Regions from separate parts of the Homo sapiens genome. Here all the other regions are linked to region 3. Evidence: promoter capture Hi-C in 16 types of primary human blood cells and fetal thymus (Javierre and others, 2016). All regions are on one chromosome and are shown on one strand. The core of a region is centred on a gene start or on the middle of the fragment in contact, and the rest is flanking DNA. Distances in the headings are between cores, read along the strand shown.

Evidence for each region. The method cuts DNA at HindIII sites, captures the fragments that hold promoters and counts their contacts. A CHiCAGO score of 5 or more calls a contact.
Region 1: a contact is called between the fragment with the promoter of CFAP53 here and the fragment with the promoter of WDR7 in region 3, in 3 of 17 cell types (non-activated CD4 T cells, total CD8 T cells and activated CD4 T cells). The highest score is 13.5, in non-activated CD4 T cells.
Region 2: a contact is called between the fragment with the promoter of SKA1 here and the fragment with the promoter of WDR7 in region 3, in 1 of 17 cell types (non-activated CD4 T cells). The highest score is 7.5, in non-activated CD4 T cells.
Region 4: a contact is called between a fragment that was not itself captured here and the fragment with the promoter of WDR7 in region 3, in 1 of 17 cell types (activated CD4 T cells). The highest score is 10.4, in activated CD4 T cells.
Region 5: a contact is called between a fragment that was not itself captured here and the fragment with the promoter of WDR7 in region 3, in 1 of 17 cell types (non-activated CD4 T cells). The highest score is 5.9, in non-activated CD4 T cells.

The regions. Positions count from the first base shown.
Region 1 is chr18:50,265,233-50,267,932 of GRCh38, reverse strand. CFAP53 (cilia and flagella associated protein 53) reads left to right here and starts at 1,438. Exons shown (of 8, transcript NM_145020.5): 1 at 1,438-1,597. The coding sequence starts at 1,529. It also overlaps a transcript of MBD1 not described here. RefSeq lists enhancers at 1,473-1,542, 1,713-1,842, 1,189-2,034. The HindIII fragment of the contact is 1,610 bases long and covers 1,113-2,700 here.
Region 2 is chr18:50,373,637-50,376,336 of GRCh38, reverse strand. It overlaps SKA1 (spindle and kinetochore associated complex subunit 1), which reads right to left and starts at 1,291. Exons shown (of 7, transcript NM_145060.4): 1 at 1,143-1,291; 2 at 419-517. The coding sequence starts at 506. It overlaps LOC105372114 (a long non-coding RNA gene), which reads left to right and starts at 1,459. Exons shown (of 3, transcript XR_935466.3): 1 at 1,459-1,742. RefSeq lists a silencer at 2,504-2,700. The HindIII fragment of the contact is 8,258 bases long and covers 1-2,700 here.
Region 3 is chr18:56,649,949-56,652,648 of GRCh38, reverse strand. WDR7 (WD repeat domain 7) reads right to left here and starts at 1,290. Exons shown (of 28, transcript NM_015285.3): 1 at 1,073-1,290. RefSeq lists an enhancer at 1,170-1,559. The HindIII fragment of the contact is 1,105 bases long and covers 1,058-2,162 here.
Region 4 is chr18:51,194,224-51,196,923 of GRCh38, reverse strand. MEX3C (mex-3 RNA binding family member C) reads left to right here. Exons shown (of 2, transcript NM_016626.5): 1 at 1-357. Among named protein-coding and RNA genes, the nearest start is that of MEX3C, 2.1 kb to the left of the region's middle. RefSeq lists silencers at 160-209, 230-279, 1,931-2,225 and enhancers at 940-989, 618-1,239. The HindIII fragment of the contact is 1,098 bases long and covers 722-1,819 here.
Region 5 is chr18:50,293,052-50,295,751 of GRCh38, reverse strand. No RefSeq gene overlaps it. Among named protein-coding and RNA genes, the nearest start is that of CXXC1, 6.7 kb to the right of the region's middle. The HindIII fragment of the contact is 1,003 bases long and covers 932-1,934 here.

The DNA.
Region 1 (2,700 bases), core at 189-2,688, 6.4 Mb after region 3:
GTGGCTGAAAAGCTGAACCAGCAATTCAGGAAATGGAATTCGTATTTAGAAACATACCACATACAAAATCCGAAGTGGGTGGTTTACAAATGATTAAGGAATGCTAATTTACAGTAAATTGCGTCCTTAAGAGGGCATACACATTAGTTGTACTTATTATATGTCAGTTTGACGTAGGTACTGATTTGTTGCATGTGCTCACAAGTGTTCTATGCTCACCCCCACTTTAGAATGGGAGTATCACAGTGTCATTCTTAATTGGCTTTTAGGTATTACCACCTTGCTCTTGACTGGAAATGCAACTGTGGTTACCACCTGTGCTGCAGGTCCGTCCTGGTTCCCTGATTTGTGTTTCCTGTTCTGCCTGGATCCTGATTCTCAGAAACCAGTTACTGGACTTCTGATCCACATCCTGACCCTGGTCCACTGTGACCCTCAGACTCTTAATTATGCTCCACCAGGTCGTGCCACTGCCCCACTAGTCCATTTGATCTGCCCCCATCCTAGGATATCCTGAGTCTAAGCCCTGGTTTCTGCCAATGGCAAATAGGAAGATTTTATTAACAGGTTTTAAAAAATTATTATTATTACTGGTTATTTGGTTTGACAAGGCACTTAGGCTCCCTGAGCTTTGCCTTAGCTGGAAAATAAGGATAGTATTACTTGCTATTCTATCAACCCTGTAAGATATTTGCGGCCACGCGCGGTAGCGCACCCTGTAATTCCAACACTTTGGGAGGCCGGCGGGAGGGGCAGTGGGGAGGATCGCTTGAACCCAGGAGCAGGAGTTCCAGCCTGAGCAACATAGCGGGACCCCCTGTCTCTTCAAAATTTGTTTTTAAATTAGCAGGGCGTGGTGGCGCAGGCTTTGTAGTCCCAGATACTCTGGAGGCTGAGGCCCAGGAGGACGAGGCTGCAGGGAGCCATGATCACGCCACTGCACTCCACCCTGGGCGACAGAGCGAGACCTTGTCTCAGAAAAAATCTGTGAGGTTAAAAGGCTGTGTGTGTGAAAATATCTTGGAAATTGTAAAGAACTACACAAATATAAGGTTTTCCTGTGATTATTACCGTCATCAAGATTAACCTACAGATAGTGCAAAATTTAAGCTTCCCAAAAAATGTTCGCTAACCTTTTTCATACTTTTAGACCATTACAAGATATAAATAGCAAAGTCAACTGGAATTGTAATTAGAGCTTTGATTTTTCTTGGGCTAGAGGTTTTTTCTGCCATTCTGATGAACCCTGGAGGAAGGGAGCAAGGTCGGCGGGATTTGGCCGAGGGGCGGGGTGAGGACTGCGCAGGCTCAGCTTCTCAGCTGGAAGAGGAAGTCCCGAGTGCAGGCGTCTGCGGCCCCCATGGTGACCAGACCGACTTCCGCCCGACCCGCCCACCTCTACCGGCCCCTAATCCCGCGAGGCGCACCATGGCAACCAGACTTCTGCGTCGCGGAAGCGGGTCCCGCAGGTCGCCACGGTTGGGGGAAACGCGGCGGACGCCGCCCCCGTCCCGAAGGGGACTCGAAAATGTACAGCCAGCGGTTTGGCACCGTACAGCGGGAGGTTAAGGGCCCCACCCCCAAAGTGGTGATCGTGGTAAGCACAGGATATGTCTGCCAGACCCTACAGCTTTCTCCATCTCTCCGCACTCCAGGCCTGGCCTATCCCACTTCGGCCCCCACCCGGGGCCTTCTCGAGGGGAACGGGTGTCGCCTGATGCAGTGGGTTGAATTTTGAAAGAAGGAAGATAAGGTCGCTCACCTATCTACCCCACCTCTCACCCACTCATCTCCCTCTGTTTTCATCCTTACAGCCTTTCATCTGCCCCCAAAGTTATAATATTTAGGTTCTGTTTTTGGAGAATCACCACTAGGGATCTTAGGGTTTTTCAGTCTCCAAGACACCGGAAGGATGTCTGTCCCCCATGCAGTGGCGAGTGTGTGTTATGGAAAGGGCACCCGGCCCAGAGACAGATCTGGGGGCAGGGCGGGCCTATGATTTGGAGCTGGTCTTTCACTCCTAGGAAAATCGTCTGAGGAAGGGGAATTAGGTTGTGAGTGGTTATAGCACCCAACGCCTTTCCTGTGCCAACTCAACCAGTAACCATTGCTGGACAGAAGTGTCCCTTCAGACCTGGGAAAAACTCAGGTGCCTGCCTCTAAGGCTGGAGTGGTAGTAGGCCAGGAAAATGTGCTTGCTGCAGAATTTGATGGTTCCTGCTGAGAACCTCAGACACTATTGGTCCATACATGTAGATTTTTTTGTTTCTACAAATTAGTTTCTACCCACCAGAAAACTAACATGTAGGCAGAGTTATTGCTTGAGCCCCTGCTGTGTGCGCAGTATTGTGGGAGATACAGGGGTGGATACAATGATCCTGGAAGGTTAACTCTTTATTGAAGCCTGAGCCCTCCCTTCAAGGAGCTTATACAAGTCAAGTATCCCTTATCTGAAATGCTTGGGACCAGAGATGTCTAGGATTTCAGATTTTTTTTTTGGATTTTGGAATACTTGCATATACATAATGCAATATCTTGGGGAGGGGACCCAAGTCTAAACACAGAATTTATTTATATTTCATTACCTCGAAGGTAATTTTATTTTCCCCTTGGGGATGCTGAATAAATATGTGTTGTTTGCTTGTGTTTTGACTGTGACCCCTTACATGAGGTCAGGTGTGAAATTTTCCACTTATGTCA
Region 2 (2,700 bases), core at 42-2,541, 6.3 Mb after region 3:
CCATCTAGGTTTGTGTACATTTACGTACATTCTATGATGTGATGTTTGCACAACGACAAAATCATGTAACGCTTTTGTCAGAACACATCTCCATCATTAAGGAACGCATGACTGTATCTCTATTTAGCTGTAGAACCATGGATGCCACATAACCTTCAAATCTCACCATTGGCCTATGTGTCTCAGAAAAACATAAGTAAATAATTCTAATGAATATTCAGTTCATTGTTCAATGTACCTTACATTTTTAGTATCCTCCACAATATTCAAAATGACATTGGACTATTTAAAAAATCGTTATGCAAAAATCTAAAATTACCTAAGATGCAGTCACTTAACCAAGCAAAGATATCATTCAGAGTGGAATAATCAAAATGCATTTTGTATATACAAAGTCAGTGGAATCTGTTTTACTTACCACAGTTTCTTAATGATAAGGTTTTCTTAATATTGCCAATCTTTTCATTAACATGAGAGCATAATTGTTCCAGATCTGACGAGGCCATCCTTTAAGCCTCTGAAGAAAAAAACATAAACATATTCGTAACAAGAAAAGCCACACAAATTTCTGTTCACTTTCGAAATCCAAGAATGGTCAATGTCAAGTAAATCACATGTCTTTGAAGGTTAAGCACAAAAATTCAAGAGCAATTTCTTTCATTTCTACAACATTCAGTTTCTAACCACGGTACCGTACTGACTTGTCTTAGAGCCTTAGGCCATCGATGGATCCCAAACCAGGGGAAAGAGGATAAGCCTGGGTCCTTTCCTTAAGGATTCAGGAGGACAAACGCACTATTTGTATATAAAGACAACATTGGTATTTTCTTTAAACACGCAAAATAAGGACACATTTTTTAAAAATGTGTTACACTGTCAAAGAAATGGGCCCAGGTAATCATTTTTCCTGTGCTGTGAGGGGTTGGGGCTTTACAGTTTGGGATCGGTAAGGAGGCCGAGAAATGGGAAAGAACCAGTTTCCCACCCACTCCGCCGGTGAGAGAGAAGGGGAGGGTCTAAAGCATCCAACCCAGCCTCCAGCCCCGTCCTCCCCCAAGCCCGGCGCGGTCCGCGGCCCCCAGCTGCCAAGCAGCTACCTCGGGCGCTTCCAAAGGCAGGGTCCCCAACACACAGACTCCAACCTCAAGTCCGTCCGGGAGCAAAAGGCTACTCGCCGCTGGGTCTCCAGCTGCGGATACCGCAGTCTCCGTTGGAAGCCCAGGATGGTGAGACGGGACTCTGTAAGCAAAATTCAAACCGCCCGCCGCGCCCTAGCGCAGCGCAGGCGCACATCCATGCTTCCGAAGCGCAGGCTCAGCCGCTGTTCCCGGTTTGCGTCATCCGGGGCCACAGCTGGGCGGGAAGGAGGGGTGGCCGAGCCGGGGAAAGGCGGGGCGACGGCGAAGGCGGGGCTTCCGGACGAAAGGGTAACCCGGAGGTGCTCTTTCCGCGCTAACCAGTCTGGGGAGATTTCAGCAGGTCATGCAGTCTTGACCGCAGCCCAGCCAGGGACCTGGCGTCACCAAGTCCTGGTCTTTGACATTTGCTGCACCTTAGAGTCACCAGGGGCAGCTATTACAAGTCTCAGTGCCTAGAGTACACCCCAAGTCGGTGAAATCAGACACTGGGGAAATGAGGCACAAGCCTTAGTATTTATAAAAACACCCCAGAAAATTCCAAAGAGCAGCTAAGTTTGTGTGGAAGAAACAGTGACCCTGTCTTCTGGGTCTTAGACAGCCTCTGTAAGTGTTCCCGGGCCAAACCAGGGGTTGGGCTGCTTATTCTCATGATGAACTGGGAAAGAAGAGTTTATTTCGGTAACCGGGTACAGGGAAAAGGCCTGGAAAATATCGCCAAATCGATTCAAAATTACAAAGTTTTCCAGAGCTTATATACCTTCTAAACTATCTGTCTACATGTAAGTGTGCATGTGTGTAAAGACGTAAATGATTAACTGTTTCTAATCTATAACTAAGATCAGTCCTAAGGAAGGTCTTTATTTAAGTAAATTTACTTAATCTAGATGGCTGCAGGTGCCAGAGGTGATTACCCTTATCTTGTCTCCTGCTAAATCATGAAGGTTTGGGCAGTTCCTTCAGACCCCCGATAAACTTGTTTGTGGAGGTCTGGGGGAGTTTCTTCAGACCCCCAATAAAAACTTGTTTAATCTTGAACAGGTCCTGTTAAGAATTCCTTCTTTATTTTCTCATGCTTCAAGGACCAGGAAAGGCCTGGGCAAAACTCTTGGTGGGCTTTTGTTACATACCAGCCTTTCTATAAAGACACTGGCTCTTTCAGCTTTTAATATTTAACTTAACTAGTGCTGAAACAGTGGTTACGGAGGCCTGTCTGTTCAGCTGTTAGTGAGACCTGGCCTGCCACTTAAGAGCAAATATAAATTTAAAATAAGAAAAACAAAAGTTTAATTCTCCCTGTTGAAAAGGAGGGAAAAGCACCCAAGGCTGGAGTGGTGGCACCGCCAGGTTCTGTCCATCCCTTGGCTCCACTGCGCTATTATTATGCACTTGGACCTTCAGGCTGCCAGCCCCTGTCCTCAGGTCTTTCTCCCAGGCAGCAGAAACGAGCAAGAGGCATGTGTAATAGGCTTAACTGCCAACAGAACCAGCACTTTGAGAGCGTTGTGCTGGAAGCCACACCCAGTGGCTTCCATCTGCTTCTCACTGGTCACTCCCATCTGCG
Region 3 (2,700 bases), core at 41-2,540:
TTCGTTTTCCCAATTTATAATAACTAATATGTATTGTTCTGGATGGAACTAGACAGTTTTTTATTCTTTGTAATAATGAGGGCATTTCAACACATTATGTTCACTTTTAAGCTGACCTTCATACAGCCACGAGTTTGTTTATAAAGCAAGAAGCAGAGTCAAACTAAAATTTTTGTTTTACAAAATGTCAAAAACTCAGTTAATTTCTTTCATACAACAGGCAATTCCTGCAACCTTGCCCATAAAATCCTAAGACATAAACACCTGAAAGAGTCAGTTTGCCTTTTTTTGTCTCATGGCAAATATTACAGTGAGAGGAAGCTATAGCTGCCACTGACCGAACCCTAAATTCAGCAGCATCAACAATATCAATGCAGCCTGTCATGCGACGGTAGGTTCCCTAGTTTCAGACTATCTAACCCAGCAAATTCTGCCTCAAAAAGTGACATACTAAGTGGGTAAAAAACATAAAACAGCAATTTTTGAATCAAAGTTAGGGTAGTGCTGACTTCAAACATAGCTTCAGAACGCTGGGACCCATCACTAAGTGAATGGGAGTGACTGGCATCCGCTCAGACAAGTACTAGGGCAAAGGGATAAGAACTGGCAGATGGCATCTCAAAAATGAAATTCTAACAGTGGTGTCAGTACCTTGGGCATGGGCAAAAATAGTACCAACAGGAAAGGAAAGACTATATGAACCCCAAAAGCAAGCACATCGCCCAAAATTGCTGTCAATAACCACCAACGATCATCACCAATCACCTGATCCCGTTTAGATTGCACCTGGGAACCAGGCAGTCCCACCTCAAGACCAAAGCAACTGTCACAAGTAGCAAATATCACTCACCAGGCAAGGGAGCCACAAAGACCCCCGGCTGGCCCCCACGCTCTTGGTAACGGCGCCTACTTTTGGGCCCGACCTGCAGGCTTGCAGCCGCAGCGATCTGACAGCTAGCACCGCCCCCGGCTAGAGCGGGTTTGTGACCTTTGACCCCTGACCCCTGACCTCCACGGTGCAGGAACATCCCGCCCTGTGGTTTCCCATGGAGAAGCTTGAAAGCCCCCTTACCTGTCACAGCTTCATCTCATGCCGCGATGTAGCCTATCAGACCGCCGGTGGGCGCCCCAGCCAAGGAGGACAAGGATAGGGCGGAACTACGGAGGATGCGGGGTGCGTAGATCCTGCTGGGATAATCCGTGGGGCGGCAAGCGCTATACAGCCGCCGTCTCCCCAGTGATACTGCAAGGTGCCGGTGCCGCCGCCGCCGCCACTGCAGTAAATCAGCTGACACCAGCCCCAACTGCCGTGACTTTCGCTGCAACTGTCGCAAAAATGAGGGGGCGGGAAAGACTCACCATTTCCCTACTTGCAAGGCCTAAGCCGGCGCCGAGAGAGCCAGCCGCGTTACGATGGAGACCGAAAGTGGAGAAAAGGCCAGCTGTGGGCAAGGAGTGCACGGCCGCCATCTTGGTTGTGGGAAGTCTCGTCTAGGCTGTCCTCTCTCCAGTTGGGAGGACCAAGATGGAGCGAAGGATGAAGTAGCAAGTGCACGTCTTTCTTGGGAGCAGGATGTTGCGCAAGTTTACACTTCTGACCCCATCACACTGCTTCCCACTGAGATGCAAGAGGTAGGGAATTCCCTAAACACTGGAAAGTATGTTGGATGCTGGAAAGCTAAAAAGAATGACAAATGTCCCCCAAGATAGATAAGCTATAGTATAGTGCAGGATGAGAAATGCCAAATAAGGAGCAAGGAAGAAAAGAGATGAATTATTTCTAGGTTGGGGTAAGGAAGGATAATCACATTAGGTCATATGGAAGTCTAGAAAAATTGGTCAGATTTGGAATAATAATTGGGAAAGGAAAACAACTTTGTCACCAGCATTGAAATGTAAAACATGAATATATGCAATAAATAGAAAGTTAAATTTGGAAGAAATACAAGGGACGTGAAGTAGGTGAAGTGGGAAAATGTGGTATCAGGGCTTAGCTGTTTCTGCTCCGTGAGCGGCTCCTTTAACAGGCAGTCTATGCCCTGGAGCTCTCTTGTGGGTTGATAGAGACTTCATCACATTCGGCCTAGACCAGGTAATAAAAAAGTAACATGGAAAAATAGAATAATGTAGATAACAAGAGGCTTTTAGTGGCCATATAAGCTTTTTGGTCTTTATTCCAAAGACAATGAAAAGTAATTGAAGACTTTTGACTAATAAATAGTGTAGCACTTTTCCTAACCACATGGTATTCAGGTTTTTAAAATTGCTTTACAACAAATTATCACAGTCTTAGTGTCTTAGTGGCTTAAAGCAACACATATGTATTGCCTCACATTCCATGGGCAAGGAGGTCAGGAACAGGTTAGCTGAGTCCTGTGCTCATGCTCTCACAAGGCTACAAGTGGATGTCAGCCAAACTGCAATTCTCATCTGGAGGCTCAACTAGGGAAGAATCTGATTCCAAACTCCTGTCAGCTCATTCAGTTCCTTGTGGCTGTCTGACTAGGGGCCCTGGCTTCTTACTGGCTCTGAACTGGAAGTGGCCATCAGGTCCTAGCAGCCACCCACAGTTCCTTACCACATGGGCCTTACTAAAGGCTCTCTCGCAACATGGCAGCATACTCCTTCAAAGCTAGCAAGGAGAATCTCTCTACTGAGCACAAGAAAGGAGTCACACAGATATAGATACAGCCATGGATA
Region 4 (2,700 bases), core at 21-2,520, 5.5 Mb after region 3:
CAGAGGAGGAGGACCGGTCGTCGCTGCTGCTGCTGTCGCCGCCCGCGGCCACCGCCTCTCAGACCCAGCAGATCCCGGGCGGGTCCCTGGGGTCTGTGCTGCTGCCAGCCGCCAGGTTCGATGCCCGGGAGGCGGCGGCCGCGGCGGCGGCGGCGGGGGTGCTGTACGGAGGGGACGATGCCCAGGGCATGATGGCGGCGATGCTGTCCCACGCCTACGGCCCCGGCGGTTGTGGGGCGGCGGCGGCCGCCCTGAACGGGGAGCAGGCGGCCCTGCTCCGGAGAAAGAGCGTCAACACCACCGAGTGCGTCCCGGTGCCCAGCTCCGAGCACGTCGCCGAGATCGTCGGCCGCCAGGGTGAGTGCAGGGGTGGGGAGGTCCAGCTGGGCATGGCCCCGGGCGTGGGTGGGGAGACGAGAGAAAGGAGCGTGGGACGGAAAAGGCGAACCCGGCGAGGCCCCCAAGTCCACCGCGAAGGGGTCTGGGAGGAGCCGAGGGTCGACCAGATGTGAAGATGGGTCACCTTGCGAAAACCCACGCTTTTCCGCCCGTCTTGCCTGGTAAAAAGTGTGAAGTTTCTCGGGCGACCCAGTCCGGTGGTGTTCACGTTACTTGGGCTGTATTCGTGGAACACCAGGCTGGCGTGGCACCAGAAACCTCAGTGAGGTGGTAAAAGGTCGGGCTCGAGGAGTTGTGGGTTCGCTGTTGGGTACGGAAAGCTTCGAGATTGCAAGTTTGCGCCGCCGAGTGTCTTCTAAAAGCGTTCAGCCTCCCTTACAAGAACTTGTTCAGATGGAGAAAAGAACAGAAATGGAGGCCTGTAGACAGAGCTCACTGGGGAGGGAAGGGGTGTTCAAATGGTCGGTATCACCGCCATCCCCTGCCCCTCCGCTGTTGAGAAACTTAGCTTTGGAAAAGCAGCCCAACTCACTGCCGCCTATCTTAACTGTATTTCTCTCGGTACGTTTCAACTCTCGGAAAGACACACTGACACACTGGCTGTCTTTTAAAACTGTTCAGTGTGCAGGATGAAGAAAAAATGGACACTAAGGTAATTAAGAAACTTCATCGGTTTATACAGTTTTCAGTTAATTCTCCTCTTCACTTGCCAGCACACCAGTACTGCAGACAGACTCCTCCCACATTGTTCAGACAAAGGACCTGTGTCTCAGATTCCAGGAGTAGATTTGTGAAGGTGGGGGAAGGGGATGCCTGGGGTACCTCTGTATCCGACATTTTTAGGGAAGGTCCTAAGTTCTTTATGGTAGCATTTCCCCTTTATGAAAGGGGCAGATGTTACCTGCTGCCACCGCATGACAATGTGGTTTAGCCTGGTTGTTGCATGCCTCTTTACTGTTAGGTTGAGAGCATTGTTGGGGTCAAATAAAGAGAGATGATGGCGCTGCCGCTTAAATGATCTCATCTTTCCCAGGTGGTCTAAAGTACACATAAATAAGAGCTCTGTCGAAATGGTGGTTTCACATATCAGACTTGGCTTATTTCTTTCCTATCTGTAGGATTTTAATAAAAACTCATCTGAAATCTGGATAAAGGAGATAGCTTAGTTCAGACTGCCTGATGATTGGCACTTACAGACACTGTTCAAAGCTGGACCTTTCAATTGAAAGGTAGCTTATGCTTGTCGTTCTTCTGGTTAATGAGTTTCAGATTCCTGGATTGTTTGGTTTTGGCGATACTTAGAGTAATAATCCAGGAGAAAACTTTTGTTTACATGGGATAAAATTACAACATCTCAATTTGGATCAGAATGAGTTGACCATTCATGTAAGAACACTGAGGAATCGCTATGTACCAAGCTTGTATTTTGCCAGGTTTTGAGTTTGTGGTATTGAGAATGTGAAGTTAATTCAGACTTTCTGCCCTTAAGAAGATAACAGTCTAATAAACAGTAGAATGGCACTAACTATAGTGTATTTAGTATGACAAAGTCTCAGGTAAGAGAACATCTATGGAGAGGGCCTTGGAAAATGGGTAGGAAGGAGTCTAACAAATGGAGATTGAAAAACTGTGGAGGAACAATGTGAGGAGGGGTGTGGAGGACTAGCCTAGGTATAATTGCCAAGTAGTGTTGTTTTGATACTTGAGGTCTGTAAAGGGGAGTGGTGGAAAAGGGGGAAGGCAGGCGTTCACACCAGAATGTGAAGAAGCCTGAATGCCATATGAAGATGCCACTTCTCAGGACAAGTTGCTTCCGTGTGCTTATGGTAACAGTCTAGGGTAACAAAGGAAGAAAACATTTACGTGCCAGTTTTACTGAAGGACAAGATAACATATTTTATAGATTTAGTTTAATACAAACTTTAGTCCTTCATTATAGTAGACACCCCTTAAAGCACTGCTAAATGGCCCTTACTTGTGTATGTTGTTAATCTTTATAGAAATCAGTTTTTTAAAAGTAAAGTGAATTCCAAGTTTTTATTTTGTACCAGCTATTACGTGATAGGAAATGAGATAAAGCCTTAGTTTTTCTTTTGAGGGCTGTGTTTATTTGGTTAATAAGGAAATGTTGAATTTAATTATGTCTTAGATCATGGAGACAAATTGCTGGCTCTTCCATTTAAACCTTGTATTTTCCCAGAGTTGACAATACTGTTAAAAGTATGTCATCATCCTCTATCTTAAAAGCAGAAAATCTGGTCCTTTTGCTGTTCTGAACCATACAACTTGTGGATCATTGAC
Region 5 (2,700 bases), core at 184-2,683, 6.4 Mb after region 3:
AGATGAGGAAAGCTAATGAGGGCCCCTAATTCCCCCACCCCACATCTCTCATAGGCCAGATTTAAAATATACAAATTCCATACCTGGAGAATTATCATTGGGATCGTGAACACTTTTACTCTCCCCTAGACTCCCAGGATAGTTGTCCCCTTGCTATGTGTAGTGTGTGACATGGAAAAGGGGATTGGCCCAGGCAGGAGACAGTGCCTGAATAGGTGGTTAACCAGCCATGTGTTCCTGGGTTCCTGCTGCTCTAAGTGACTCTTGAGATTTTCCTGAGCCTGCTTGATTTGATTGTAATTGAATTGTGAGAACTTGCTGTGTAGAGTTGGTCCTGCAGGCTTGGAAATGGGAACAGCAGGTACCTTCAAGGACAGAAACAGTGAAGGAGGCCTGGGGAATGCTGCGTGCTGCAGATTATTGATGGGCCTTCCACAGTACTCCAGACGAAGGCAACTTAAACTGTTGGTCAAGCACCTCTATTCTGTTGTTCCTTCAAACCAACCCCGAGAAGCCACATTAAAAACCCCCTTTGCACATAGACAATTACAGAGATGGTAATGAAACCAATTCTGTGTTCACAGCACTGCAGGAAACACAACTGTGGATTCAATTCACCTTGTGTGGTTTACTCTTCAAGAGATGCTTAGTTCTTACCTTCAGGGAGTTTATAATTTCATTGAGGAAACAACTTGCTCATATATGAAACCATTGCAGATTAACAAAATTACAGGAGTGTTCTGGTGTCTGTAACGGCAACTTTTGGAAGAGAACACAGGGATAATCAAGAAAAAAAATTATCATGAACACAGACCAGTACCAAAGGGTTTTATAATGCTCCATTTTGTGTATGACAAACCTCAGATTTGCTCTGTCTTCTGTAGGACCAAGGACATCATGATCTGGGGCTAAAAAACACAAACTGGAAGCTTCTGCAGGCTATAAAATTCAAGGTGATATTTACAGATGAGCTTTGCGATGGATAGAAACTGACCTATTCAGGATAGAAATTGGTTCGTAGGAGTTGGGTAGGAATAAAAAGTAGAAGAATCTACCACCAAACCAGAGAAGCAAGCCTATTTAATTCTTTTTGGTTTTTTCAGAGGGCGTAAGTGGGAAAGGAAGAAGTCAGATTAGAAAACTGGTGCACTTGTTCCTCTCTAGGAACCTGAGTGTGATAAGAAATGTGGGCCAGGTGCGGTGGCTCACACCTGTAATGCCAGCACTTTGGGAGGCTAAGGTGGACAGATCACCTGAGGTCAGGAGTTCGAGACTAGCCTGGCCAACATGGTGAAACCCCATCTCCACTAAAAATATACAAATTAGCTGGGTGTGGTGGTGGGCACCTCTAATCCCAGCTACTCAGGAGGCTGAGGCAGGAGAATCACTTGAACCTGGGAGGCGGAGGTTGTAGTGAGCTGAGATTGCATCACTGCACTCCAGCCTGGGTGACAAAAGTGAGACTCTATCTAGAAAAAAAAAAAGAAATGTGGCTGTTAGGGACGGGGAAGCTGTAGTAGGGAGGGAGCAGATTAGAATTAAAGCTACTAAACAAGTCCTCCTCATCAATGATATTAAATGACTGGTTCATGACATTTGGCAGTCTTTAAACATTTCAGAGACATCAGCTTGAAAGTATAATATATGAGGAAAAAGGATATTTGTGTCAGGTGTCCTAAGACCATCCTCAGGTTCAATGACTCACTAGAAGAACACACAGAATACAAAAACACTGCTAAGCTCCCAATTAGTTTGTTACAGCAAAAGAATACAGATTGAATGAGCAAAAAGGCTCATAGGCTATAGTACAGGAAAGACCATGCTTCCAGTTCTCCTCTCCTAGAGGAGTCATATAAACAGCACTTAATTATCCCAGAAACAGTGTTGTGATAACATGAATGAAGTATTGCAAACCAGGGAAGCTCATCCAAGCTTTGGTGTCCAGGGTTTTTATTAGGGGATTGGTTACATGAGTATGGAGGGTGCCATTGCTGACCTTGGTTACTCAGTCTCCGGCCTCTCCAGAGTTCATATTGATACCCTGTGGCCCAAGGTCCCCACCACAAATCACATTGCTATCATAAACTATCTGGTGTGGACCAAGATCCTAGGTAAATATAAACATTCTTTTTTTCTTTTTGAGACAGAGTCTTGCTCTGTCATCCAGGCTGGAGTGCAATGGCGTGATCTGGGCTCACTGCAGCCTCCACCTCCTGAGTTCAAGCAATTCTCCTGCCTCAACCTCCTGAGTAAGTGGGATTACAGGCACCCGCCACCACACCTGGCTAATTTTTGTATTTTTAGTAGAGACAGGGTTTACCCATCTTGGCCAGGCTGGTCTTGAACTCCTGACCTCAGGTGATCCACCCACCTTGGCCTACCAAAGTGCTGGGATTACAGATGTGAGCCACTGTGCCCAGCTGAACATTCTTATTAGGCAAGTAATTCTGAGCACTTTAAGGTTATCTCCCAAGAGCCAGTCAAATATCAGATTTTTTTTTCATGTGAAGGTTTGAACAACCAAGGCCTGCTGAGTTAATCTTTTACCGCATGGCACTATTTGGAGAGTTCCCATTCTGGACCTAATTCATATTATTCTCTCAGATGTCTTTCTAGGAGGATGTTAATTTTGCCCATTTTTATAGATGAGAAAAAGTTCTCAGAAAGATTAACTACACTCTGCAATGTAAAGCAGCTAGT